Regions from separate parts of the Homo sapiens genome. Here region 1 is linked to region 2. The links are contacts of gene promoters, found by promoter capture Hi-C in human tissues and cell types (Jung and others, 2019). All regions are on one chromosome and are shown on one strand. Each heading gives the region's core, a stretch centred on a gene start or on the middle of the fragment in contact. The rest is flanking DNA. Distances are from core to core; before and after follow the strand shown. Region 1 has its middle 340 kb from the start of PCDH19. Region 2 holds the start of PCDH19 (protocadherin 19).

What was found. Contacts are between HindIII fragments. The study calls those that stand out against the background at their distance.
Region 1: a fragment that was not itself captured here is called in contact with the fragment with the promoter of PCDH19 in region 2 in 1 of the 25 tissues and cell types used here (adrenal gland).

What each region holds. Positions count from the first base shown.
Region 1 is chrX:100,068,268-100,074,561 of GRCh38, reverse strand. No RefSeq gene overlaps it. Among named protein-coding and RNA genes, the nearest start is that of PCDH19, 340 kb to the left of the region's middle. RefSeq lists an enhancer at 3,506-4,451. The HindIII fragment of the contact is 6,682 bases long and covers 1-6,294 here.
Region 2 is chrX:100,408,897-100,415,993 of GRCh38, reverse strand. PCDH19 (protocadherin 19) reads left to right here and starts at 5,721. Exons shown (of 6, transcript NM_001184880.2): 1 at 5,721-7,097. The HindIII fragment of the contact is 11,006 bases long and covers 2,874-7,097 here.

The sequences.
Region 1 (6,294 bases), core at 1,745-4,244, 340 kb after region 2:
ATGTTTGAGAGTCTAATAATTCAATTAGATTCATGTGTTAGCTCCACCCATAGGTCAAATAGGTGGCACCCAAGTGGTGAGATTTCAAGTGTTCTGAAAATATGTTTGGCCCCTTGGTATTTTTCTGGCATCAGCCCTGCCATACCACCTAATATAGCTATGTTATGATTTGTATATCCTAGCTAAATTGCTGATTTTTTTGGGAGAAGTGATACATTAATACCTTACTTTGAATTTATTTATCAGATTAGCTAGCAAAGAGAGCATGGATTTTAACAGTGGAACCAAAGATCATTAGATGGAGTGATACCTCTGGAGGGAAGTTATGCCTAGGGTGACTAATCTTCCCATTTTGCCTAAGACTGGGGGGTTTCCTGGGATGCAGGACTTTCAGTTTTATCAGTCCTGGGCAAACCAAGATGAGTTGGTATCCATAGGCATGGATGTGGCACCAAGACCTATAAGGGCTTTGGGTGCCTGCCTAGGAGTGAAGGACTCTAAAGGAGAAGAAGAGAAGACATCAGAATGAAGGACCCGTTTCTCCTACTTTGCCATTTGGTCTGGTGATGATATACTATGACAACAGTGGGGCAGGATCATTGAAAATAGTGTGGGTTATTTATTTTTCTTATTTTCTAGAAGAAACAAAAAATAGTTATATATTTTTTGTTGTATTTTCTTTTTTATTTCTAGGAGATAGAACATTCTGTGGCTTTGCCTAGGGGTGGCGTGTAGTTTATCTTGTCAAGTTTATGAATACGATGATTGGCTTTCGGAAAGCCTCAACTCAAGAGACTTTCCAGAGAGCTTAACTGGAAGGAGAAGTCCAGAAGCGAGGCCTTTGAAAGTGGGTTGGAAGAAGCAGCAGGATAGTGAAGGAACAGACTTTGAAACTAGTTAGGGGATTGTGGATTGGGTTATCAAGAAAACTGAAGTGCTTGAGCTGTGTGTGTGTGTGTGTGTGTGTGTGTGTGTGTGTGTGTGTGTCTAGAAGGCTGTGTGGTATACCTAAGGATGCTAAATCTGAGGCCTATTCTTCACAAAAATTCCTATGTCCAGGATTGTACAGAAGCTATTGAGTGGTCCAATTTTAAAAGTCCAATGAGAATTTATAAGTGGTGCCTGGTGTAAACCTATAATCAGCAACCTTCCCCAATGTTCTGCTCTATGGGAGACTGTTGGGATGTACAGTAATGAAGGCCATTTAATTTACTGCAGGTCCAGTAGAATGAGGGCTCAGAGTAAAATTTGGTTAAGGTTAAACAAAAATTGATGTTTCTAATATGCACAAGTGTGTGGAGAAAAATTTATACCCACTAAATTTGCTATCAAGAACCTACTATATGGCAGGCACTTTATTATTATATATTATTAATGTTTATAACCTATGAAGATGTGTATACATGTATGTGTGTATATAAATATAACAAGTATATATACATACACATATAATTATATAATATTTATATGTAATACATACATTTTACAGATGAGGATCAGAGAGCTAATGCTGACTCACCATATAAGTTATAATAAGTGGCCATTGCAGAACTGGAAAGTTTAATCCATGCCTGTCCAATTCCAAATTCTGTGCTGACACCACTCATCATATAAGTTATAATAAGTGGCCATTGCAGAACTGGAAAGTTTAATCCATGCCTGTCCAATTCCAAATCCTGTGCTGACACCACTCATCATGTTACTTCTGTATTGGTTAGATACATTAACAGGAAAATATAATACTGCAATACTTCTCTGGCTATTTGTTTCCTTTCTCCAAAGGAAAAAGCATAGGTACATATTGAAGGAGCAAATGTGATGACATGTTTTGTGGGGTTGACCTTGCTTCCTTGGATCACATTTTCACTGCTTTCAAAACCTCTGGACTGAACTTAGTCTCTGGGATAGGCAGTTCTGTGATAGAATTGTTTGGTGCAGATGTTTTTGGGTGTGTCTGTGTTTCTACCTGGAACAAACTCAACTTTATTTCTAGACACTTTTAAATGTGTTTCATGTGGCTTGTGACCACAATTCATCACCAGTGATTTTTCTCTTGGCCAGTTTCCATCTATCATTCTATTGCAGCAAGAGAAAGGAGAGCAACTCTAGAAAGTGGCATATAGCCTGGTAATTAGGTAATTTGCTTTCCTATCCTAAATGGAGCAATTTTTAGGTAAGTGGTGCCTCTTTTGGCTTCCTAAGGTTACTGCATATAATTTTGACAGGGCCTAAGTAGACAAAAATTCATGGAGACAATCTAGCTTTAAACAAGGTGAAATCATTAAAGGATTGAACATAAGAACAAGGATGGAAGTGGATCTAGTCACTAGTCATGTTCTTAAGGATTCTTGCTATGGTTTGTTTTCAAAGATATAATTAACACATGTTAAGAGTAGATAGACCTGAGTTTGATTCCAGCTCCAAACTTGCTGTGTGACTTTAGGTAAGTCACATAAACTCTACACTGTATTATCTTCTGTCTTTAAAACAGAGATGATACTATATGACTCATGAGGCTTAAATGAAATAATGTATGTAAGAGTGCAGTATCTGGCATGTAGCAAATGCTCAATAAATGTTAGCTGCTATCATCATCATCATCATCATCATCATCACCATCATCATCACCACCATCATCATTTTTCTTTTGTAGTAAACATCACATTCGATTTGTAAAAGAATCATATTATTTCCCTTTAGATTTAAAAAATGCTTAAAAGTTTATTTTTCTTATTTTGTTTGTCTACACATTTGTACAATTCTGTAAAACAATTTAGTGTAATGATTTTTAGGCAATGTGTAAATATACACAGAAAGTAAAAAGCATGTATAAGCCTGATATTATAAATTAAAATATTGCCCTTAATGAGTCAGGAATAGTTTGGAAATAATAGGACAACCTGTCTTCTAGGATCTTAGCTTAGTTTACCTTGTACTGTAGTCAAAACATGTTTTGACCTTTGATTATATATGTATTTTTGCTTCTGTTGAAACTGCATTGCCTCAATCAAAAATAGGTGTTCATCATCTAATATGTTCCAGGGTCTGGTGATATTCAGGACACGGTAATGAATTAGACATAATATTTCACTGAAGAGAGTTCTAAATCTAATAACTGTGCCACTTCAGTAGCAGAAGTTGGTTTTCATGTGGACTTGACCATATTTACCACTTATACAATATATGAATGATCAAGAAAAGCTTTGATGTAGGAGGTTAAAGTCTTTACCAGTTGGCAAGGCAATGTCAGTGCCCTTTACTGACAAGGATTTTCAGACGGGGGAAGGATTAGATTTAGATTTCTCTTTAGTGGCTGTTTGGATCCACATCTATGCAAACTCGTAAAGATGAATAAGTATCAGAGGGCAGAGTTTGGTTCAAATATAAAACTTGAAACAATTTGAAAATTTAATGTGCGCCTCAGTTCTATAGAAGTGTTTAAATAAATGCTAAATGACCAGAGGTCTGGGTGGTGGTAGAGTTCTTTCATGAATTTAATAGGAGATTGACCTCGATGGTCTTTCAGGTTCCTTTTAGCTCTGAGGTTCTATAAAACATGGAGAACTCTCTAGTGGATTAGATTTCCATGTTGTTAGCAATAATTGTTTTTTCAGCATTTCTCTGTTGGCATAATAAAAAACATGTAGTTTGTTGGGCAGTTTAATTCCTTAATTTCACCCTTGGAGAGTATAACTTGGATAATTTCTTATATAAAGGTACACAAGACTCTTGGGATTCTAATGTTTTCTTATTGTCAAAATAAAGTATCTATAATGGTACTTGACTCACAGTAAACAGCAGAATAGTACGTGTCTATTGCTATGTGCAAAGTACTTTCTCTTATCAAAGAGCACACCTTTATCTTAGTTCTTACCAAAGAAACCTCAATTTTTTTCTGCTTCTACCTTCTGGGATTCCCCCAGTGTGGCCTAGTGAATTACCCCCCTGTAGTTTCAGCTTTGTTTCAGTTCCCAAACCAATCCCCCTTTAAAGCTTTTGATTGTTATTCTCCCTGCTGGTCTACTCAGGAAACGATTGCCTAGCACTGATCTCTGGGCTCCTATAGTGTTCTTAAGTCACTTTGTATTTGTCTGTACTATACAGACTAGTGGCCTACAGGACCTGTGACACAGTATTCTAATGCTGACAACTGTTCTTCTGTATTGACTCTTGAGTTCCAGCTTTTCCTTCCTGAGTACCCCAGTTCGCAGATTTAAACTGTTGGTTTGAACTATGCTCAACAGTCATGTTCTGATAATTGGTCTAGTGTATCTTCCTTTTTCATCTGGTATAATAATAGTAATAATAGCTATCATATATTGGTGCTTACTATGTGGCAACTTCACCATACTTTTAAAATAGAGATGCAAAACTGAAAAATTCAGAGAAGAGTAGTAAACAAGATTAGAATGGGTTTTTCTTTTCATATGAGAACATGCTACTGGGATAGGGATTTTACTTTAAAGGCAAGAGGTAATTGGAATCTCATCTTCAATGGTTGTTATGGGGAGAGATATTTAATAGCTTTTTTATTCAGAGATTTAAAAATGGAAAAGTGCTTAAAACAGAAGCAGTAGAAATTTCTATTGAAAATAATGAAAACCTTTATGGTTATCAAGGTGTAGAAAACTCACTATGGGCAACCAAAGACTGTTGATTAGCCTGTTCCTGGTTTAAAAAATTGCTTCAAAGCTGGCTACAGAAGGCTGTACAATTCACAAAATAATCTAAGAGCTGTTTTAGGTACTGTGTAAACATGGAGAGAATGAAAAACATGTGAAAGATTGATATTATTAGAGCTAAAATATTTTGCTGATTGACTTCAAGAGACTTGATAACTGGTCCTGGAATGTTTCCTATCCAGCTGCCTGAAGGCTGGAAGATGGACCCTCTAAAGTTCATCTAACGCTCAGATTCTCGACATTCTCTGACGTTTCAATAGGGAATGCAAGCTGTTTTGGATCAGACAGAAAACTTGGTTACTTCTCTCAGCATCAGAATTCAAAAATGCACATTTTTCATGATCTCTGTGATGAACAGGCAATTTGCATGTTTTGATTTATCACTCTTAATGATCATAATTAAATATGATTCATCATTGTAGTTTTACTAATAAATCAAAGTAGATCACAAGGCAAAATCATTTGTCCTATATAGCCATTTGTGCACTTTTATTCGGAAAGAAAAGATTATACAAGGGAGAAGAAAAAGACTTAATTTAGATTCCAGTGTTAACAACACCTTACTCTGCAAGACTATAGTAGACATTTTCTCAATATCCACAGGAATTCTAAGAAAGAGTTAAGACTGGGACTTCAGTTTTCTCACATGTGAGATGTTGCTAAACATATATAAATACATTTGTGTACATAAATAAATATATAAAACCTATATAGGTGCTATATATATGCTAAATATATTACTTTATGTGATAAGATATTGGAAGGATTGAATGAGATGTATGTACAAAACATCTAATAAACTGCATGGCACTCAGAAAAAGCCCAATAAATGTTAGCTACTTGCTCAGTGTATTATTTTTCAGTACATTCCTGGGGCATCTTTGCAATAGTATTGCAATGCTGATTCATACTTAGCTTATAGTCAGTTATAAATTCCAGGTCTCTCAAGCTATACTAATTTTTAATGGGGGCTCTTCCATCCTGTATCTGTGGTTATCTTTTTTTGATCTTTAAGTCCAAGCTTGTTCCTAATGCTTTATGTTTTCTCCTGTTGGCATTATTCCCCTTTGTAGGACCATTTTACCAGTTTATCAGTGCCAATTTGTATGTTATTTCTGTATCTATAACACTGCCAGTTTTAAGATCATATAAAGGCCGGGCGCGGTGGCTCACTCCTGTAATCCCAGCACTTTGGGAGGCCGAGGCAGGCGGATCACAAGGTCAGGAGTACGAGACCAGCCTGACCAACATGGTGAAACCCCGTCTCTACTAAAAATACAAAAATTAGTCGGGCGTGGTGGCGTGCGCCTGTAATCCCAGCTACTCAGGAGGCTGATGCAGGAGAATTGCTTGAACCCAGGAAGCAGAAGTTGCAGAAGTTGCAGTGAGCAGAGATTGCACCACTGCACTCCAGCCTGGGCGGCAGAGCGAGACTGTCTCAAAAAAAAAAAAAAAAAAAAAAAGATTATATAAAAATTTGATTAACATACTCTTACTTTCTTAGTACTGGAGACTTGGTCAAAAGTCCTAATCCCTTTGCCTTTGCTCAACAGAAATGCTAGCTCTGCTCAGAAGTCCATAGATACCTAATAAGGGGCTATGAAAGAAGGTG
Region 2 (7,097 bases), core at 4,472-6,971:
TACTAGGTTGCAGTGTTAGAGGCTGGGGACAGCAACACACACACACACACACACACACACAAAAAGGCTTGGCCTTGGCCTAAAACAGTGCATCCCAAGTGAAAGTCTGCTCACTTTCAATTACGTATTCTTTGTATCGTTGTGGTTCATATTTCGGTGGTTTTTGAGGTCTCCAATTTGGTGATAGTTTTTTTTTTTTTCAAGCTGTCAAAAAAGCATTTCCTCTGGGGAGCTGTGGAATGTCACCCTTACCCTCCTCCTTGGGATGAGGGAGTCAGCAGTGGGAAGGCTGGCCATGATTTAATCAGAGTGCCTTTGAAGGGAGAGCTTTCTGTTTTCAAAAGTGGTGATGTGGGGAGTAACAGCTGACATGAGGTTGCACCTAGGAAACCAGCATTTGGGGTCCACTTGGAGAAAATTCACATGAAAAGATTGAGGCAATAATGCTGAGAGCCCAAATGGTGCTGTCAAAACATCACAGGTGATCACTGCAGGGCAGTACAAAAGGTGTTAGAGAGCAGTGTCATTTATTGAAATGTATCTGCTGATTTAGCCTTTGCTAATTAAATAGTCCCCATGACGTGTGCTTATTTAGGGACAGTTACGAGTTTGGCAGCAGCAGGGGTTTGGTCCTGTGGGAAGTGCCATTCCTAAAGGGAGGGGATAAGGCATGGAGGAAGTTTGGACATAGCTTGTTCAAGGATGCTGGCCTTGTCAAAATGGGAAGACATGAAGTGATTAATAACTTTCTCAGTCTCTTTTTCTCCACTGTCCCGCACATCTCTTGTGTTTCTTGGAAAAGGCAGGCATCGGGGCCATGGTGAACAATTTTAGCACTTAAGAAACACTTTCTCTACTTTGTTTATCTGCTACAGCTCCCTGCTGTTAATGTTATCCTCTGTCACAGGGTAGGAAAAGGGGTGGAGTTTGAGAGGAAGAGAGGGAAAAGTGTGAGGGACCTCAAAGGTTTTTCTTGGCCTCTGTCCTAGTCTTCTTGGTGTTCCAGAAGGGTTAGAAACAGCATCCAGGATAACCCCACCCCTGCCCAGCAGGTCCACATCCCTGATTGCTGCTGTTGATGCCTTTCCTTATACTGTCTGGGACAGTGGCGGGGGAGGCAGGAAGGGAGGGAAGGACTATCTAGAAATCGGGCAATCATTGTGGGCAGAAGAGAACAGAATTTTAGGAAGCTGTCGACATAATATATCTCATCCTAGTTTCTCCTCTAGGAAAATTTATAGTACATAGACATACATGCTGTTATTAAATTAATCAACTGCATGTTAAACTACATAAGGGCAAGGTCCACTAAAAAAAATTCTCAATCCTTAACACAATGCTGGACAAAAAGCCAACACTTGTTGATCTCACGAGGGAAGTGGTTGAGTTTTGTGTAATGAGGTCGTCTTGGAAAATCGTTGAACTGCTCTGCAACTGTTTCCACATCTGCAAAGTGTCTTTATCTCCCAGGGATATTGTAAAAATTAAATAAGATGATGACTTTAATAATGACACTTTATAGTTTTTTTCCCATTTCCTCCATTTTCATTCTTTGATGTTCTCTTCTCTAGGCATTGTAACCTAAGTAAGGAGATCAGATATGCAGTCAGAAGAAGTTTGATTGAATTTGCTAATTTTAAAATCAATTTTTTCTTTCTAAGAGAACCTCATCAGGCAGCTGGTCAAACTAGTTGGGTGGAATGGGATCCCCATGATATGCAGTGAAAGCCAAGCTAGAAGATGACCCACTTTTCTGCAGCCAGGGCAAAGAGAAGGGGGCAAAAGGAAGGAGGAGGAGGAGGAGAGAAAGAGAGAGACTGGAGTTATTTGAAGGCTAATCTCTTTTGAGCTTAAAGCAAACATTAAAAAAAAAAAAACATATCTCAGGCTAGGGCACAGTAGCTTATGCCTGTAATCTTAGCACTTTGGGAGGCCAGGGGAGAAGGATTGCTTGAGGCCAGTTTGAGACCAGCCTGGACAACAGAGAGATACCCCATTTCTACAAAAAATAAAATGAAAAGAATGAGCCAGGTGTGACAGTGCACACCTGTATAATCCTAGCTACTCAGGAGGCTGAGGTGGTAGGATTGCTTGAGCCCTGGAGTTTGAGGTTACAGTGAGCCATGTCTGCAGCATTGCACTCTAGCCTGGGCGACAGAATGACACCTTGTCTCTAAAACAACAGAACAAAACAAACACATCTCAGAAAGCTTCCTTAAACTTGTCAGAGTTACAGTCCCTCATATACTGGTATCTTGGTTCCTACCATTACTTTTCACCTTTCTGGACAAAACCTTTCACCATACCCTTATCAATCTTAGGAGAACAAGAATTAGCTTCACATACTGGTTTGATCTAAAAGTAAGATTTCTCCCATTTTGGTCCTCTTTTATTGCCATTCAGCATGATTTTAGTGGCATGGATGACATTTTAAAGACAAAAAAAATTCTCTTTGCCAATTTTGATTCTGGCCTCAGTGGAGCTGCTTTGACCTGGAGAGCAGCCGTAGGCGGCATAGCACCATTAGTATTAGTATTTCTTAGTAGCTGTTGGATTAAAAAATACTGAGGATGGTCACTAGATGTCCCTCTTGTGTCTCTAAAGAGGCTGAGGAGGCGGGGCTCCCTTCAGGATTGAAGTAAAGGGAAGCTAAAACGGAGAGAACTTTCTTGTTTTTATTATCTACATGCAGAACGATTTTATTCAGTTAGTTAATAAATTCCTGATCATGAAAGTGTTTTGGGCTACTCATTTAGTCAATGGCATTCTTGGAGTATAATGATCGAGTGTGCCTATTAGAAAAAAAGAAATTCTGAGGGCAAAGGCTGTTGTTAGGATTATCTGTAGAAATAGACTGGGGGATGGAAGAGCTATTTTGTGTGTGGGGATGGGGAAGGCTGTGTAACTGTCACTTTGAGATTAGGGGTGGGGAGGAGATAATAGGAAAGAAGGAAAGCATAGGCACACGCCCCTGCCTCCCTTAGCACCTGGCTTGTGTAAAAGTGGTTTGGTAGCTGGAAGTACTTGGATGCTCTCCTTGGAAAAGAGGGGTGCCTGGAGTGTGAACAGCGAGCAGGAAGCAGGGAACACGGTGGCATCGCCTTAGCAAAGAGGGTTTGTCTTTGCAAATGCAGAACATGTCTTTACATTGTGATTGCAATTATGAAGGTAATGACATTGTACATGAATTGAATTCTCCTATTTATCTTTAAAAGACAGCAGAATATAGACATTCTATTAGCACTCCCTAAGGTAAGAGGTCTGCAGTCTTCTTATCTTGTTGTGTGCATCTTTTCAGATGCTACGACAATGTTAATCATTTTACCTGAGTAATTCTTCCATTTCTCGTTACCTGGGGGATTGTTAATGGCCGAGACTACTTCTCAGACTCTTTGCTCCCGCTCAATCAAGCCGTGGAGGCGCCAGTTTACTTTTATTGATCAGTGGGTTCCTGACAGCCTTCGCCACAAGGAAGCAGCATCATCCTTTTTTAACTTAAAGGGGGAACAGATCGCCTTAAAGTTTACAGCTAAAAGCTTCTAAGCATAGCATGCAAACATTTTAGCATGCTGCTAATTGTTCTGTTTAAATAGTCCAAGCAATATTTTAGAAAGCTGCCAAACGCCGAATTCACATCCCGTGATCAGATAGCAAACCCATTTCAAATGCCTTTTTAGGCCTTTTTAATTAGACCAAGATGCACTTCATTCCCATGCTCTGACATCAAAGGTAAATAACTGTGATAAATCAAATGGAACCCTTCCTTTCGCGGAGCCCGCGAGGTGCGCCCACCGCTGCCTGCCATGTTGTCATTCTCTACTACTTGCCCATTTCTCCAACGGTGTCTGGAGAAAACCGGTCGGGCCACCGGGCTCCCTTGAGCCACCACTCTGGTGTCCACCCGCAGCTCTAAATGACCAAAATTAAATGATACTCATTGCAGAAGCATCGGTTTTCTCCCTGTTGTTCTGGGCCGAATCACATCCTAACGTGAAACAGTGAAACGACCCCCACGCGGAAAGCGGATCAGGCTCCCTACGCTCTCCCTTTGGCCTCGGCTACATATTCAGGGGATCGCAATCTCACTCGCGAAATAATTTCTTTCTGTAAGAGGAAGCCGCCTTTCCCCTCTCCCACCGCCAAGGTAAAGGCTGCTAAAGTAGCTCTTCTTGGAAGGAAAAATATTTTAAAAAGCAGCTGGGTTGCTCTCCACAAGAAGATGGCAGTTTTGAGAAAACCCATTATGTGTCCAAATGCCGGTTTCCTTTTCTTGTTTAACGCTTTTTAGAGGGCAAAAATGACGCTCATGTGAAGCCCACAGGCTCGAGCCAATGTCGCTGGGCTAATTATGAGTCTGCTTATCCCACTCCCAAATATCCGAGACGACTCACTCAGAAGACATTTTTACTCTTCCAAGAATTGTGAATTCAGAAGCAGCTTCCCCACATTCTAAGAGAAAAAAAAACTTGTTTAACGGGCACGTTTTTGATTTTTTTGCCGCTGGCGACCTTAATTAAAAGCCTCAGAGCCCGGGTGGGGAGGAATGCCCCGCTGCCCCCAGGGAGCCTTCAGTGCAGAAGGCAGGATGAGCTTGATGTCAGCCCTGGCCACGCCGGCCTCCCGCTTCCCAGTACTGGCACATGCCGCAGCCACCACCGCCGCCCAAGTGGAGCTGGCAGCCCCCTGGGACCGAGACCCCGCGGGAAGGCTGGGGCGCCCTGCACATCGGCGCCGGCTCCCAGCTGTCGGCGACCTAAGCGGACATGTATGGCGTGCCCGCCCCAGAGCTCCTGCCCGGCTTTGAGCTCTGCTGGCTTGGCGCGGCGCGGCGGCGTCCGCTCCACCGGCTCTTCTCAAACGTACAGTTTATTTATAGGGAGCTAAATTCTCCAACAGGGTGGGGTGAGGGGCAATGAAATGTGTCCGGCCCCCTCCGTAGCTCATTCTCTGTGCCACATATCCCATTTGATTAACAAGCAACAGACAAGAGCGAACCGATCCAGGGGCCCTGCTGGGAGTGCGGCACGCAGAGAGTAGTGCGGCGTCTGCCCGGGGTGGAAGGATGGGGGTGACGGTCCGGGGGGGTGGCGGCCGTGGCTCTGGCCTGATGTGAAGACACACCGGCTAAGAGCTGGATGAATGACCACCTCAGGGGCGCTTTCTCCTTCCCTTTCTTCCTTCCACTACCAGAGAATGAGAAGAGAGGAAAACAAAAACAGACGATTTTTTAGGGTGAAGAGACAAGGAGAAATAGAGGGATATATATATGTGTGTATATATATATATATGTGTATATATATGTATATATTATATTCAAGATATGAAGATATGTAAGGGAGGTAAACACGATAAGACAATCATATCATCCTCATCTTTCCTGAAATCTCTGCAAACATGAGAAGCGCACAGTTCCCGGCGAGGCTCAGCCGCAGCGCCAGCACACCGCCTCCCTGCTCATTCCTGCCCTATTGCTCCTGCCTGGCCTGCCTGGCCTGTCTGTCCGTCCTCCCATGAATCCCGCCAGGGCTCCATGGGCCGGGGTACCACTTGGTCCCGCCGGTGTGAAGTTTCCGCTTGGCCCCGCCCCCCCGCTACCCCCCGCCTCCGCTTGGCCCCGCCCCAAGACTGGAGCCCGCTGGCGGCGCGCTGATTGGCCAGGGCCTGGCGTAGCCGGGCTCGGCAGCTTGAGCTTTCTCCGGCTTTCTCCAGACTCCGCGGCCAGTAGTTTGCGGCATCCGGAGGAGCAGCAGCAGCAGTAGCGGCGGCGGCTGGCGCAGCGCGGAGACGGACGAGCGGGCACAGACGGCAGCACAGCTCCCGTGCACCATGCCTGGCTTGCCCGGGAGGCACTGGCACCCGCGTCCCTAGCCCGGCGCTGGCCCTTGGCGCGTTGCGCTCCGCAGCATTCCGGCTGAGCGATTTCATCCGAAATCCTAAACCTCCTACCCCAAACCCATTGCCTCCTGCTTGCTCATACTCCACACTCACACTCCCCACACCACACACTCACTCTTCCTCTCTCTCTCACACATTCACACACAGCCCGAGACAGACAGAGAAAGCGAGACAGACCTCCCGAGTGCGCGAGCGCCCGGGAGGAAGGGAGCCCAACGCAGCGCGGCCAGCGCCTCTCCGGGAAGATGAAATCAAGACGCTCCTGCAAGTAAACTTCGGCGGCGACAAAATCGTCGACTGTGGCAGCTGCTGAGGCGGACCCCAGCGACGTGCAACTGAGCTAGGAGGGCTTCCTCCCGCGGCGGCGGCGGCGGCGGCGGCGGCGGCGGACCTTGGAGCGACACCCCAGCCCAAACGGAGAGAAGAGAAGCACCCGGTACCCACGGCGGCGGCCCCGCCTCTCCTGGCCGGTACTGTTGTTGCCTCCCCTTCCCTCTTCCCCATTCCCCGCCACCCCCGGCCATTAGAAAGACCGGGGCTTTGATTTTCTTGGACAAATTGCCATCTCCCCGTTTCCACAAACTTGACGTGGAGGGTCGGACTGCGTTGTTAACTTTGATTTCCTAGACGAAAACGCCCGCAGACCCTCAACTGCTCTGTGGGGGGAACTCCGCTCCCACCTCGGATCCTGGACAGACGCGCCCCCAAGCCCTTCGAAGCCAGCCTTAGCGCGAGGGAGCGCGCTCAAGCTCTGGCAGCCTCTCTCCCCTCCCCCTTCCTCTGCTGGCCCCGGGACCGCCATCCGACTCAACCCTATAACCGGGTGCCCGCGGCGCTTGCCAGTAACTGACTCCCGTCTGCGACACCCCCTTTCTCCCGAACAGGCCTCGAAGAGGCCAGTGTGGCCCCCCCAGACCCCGGAGGGCGCATTCCAAGCGGGTACTCTCTCCGCAGTGAACTGGGAGCGCTGGGGGGAGGTCTTTGCGCATGCCAGGTGCACAGACAGCGAGTTCGCCAGCCTCAGTGCCGGTGCACCGCGGCGGGCCGGGCAGTGCCTGAAAGGCTGCGCCTCCTCCGCCCTCTTTACCTTCGCCTCAAGTACTGTCCGGACTCAGCGGTGCGTCCTCCAGGCCGCGCAGACGCCGCCCGACCCGCAGCCCTGGGCGGCTGCCGACAGTCGCGCCCGGCTAACTTTGAAGGGG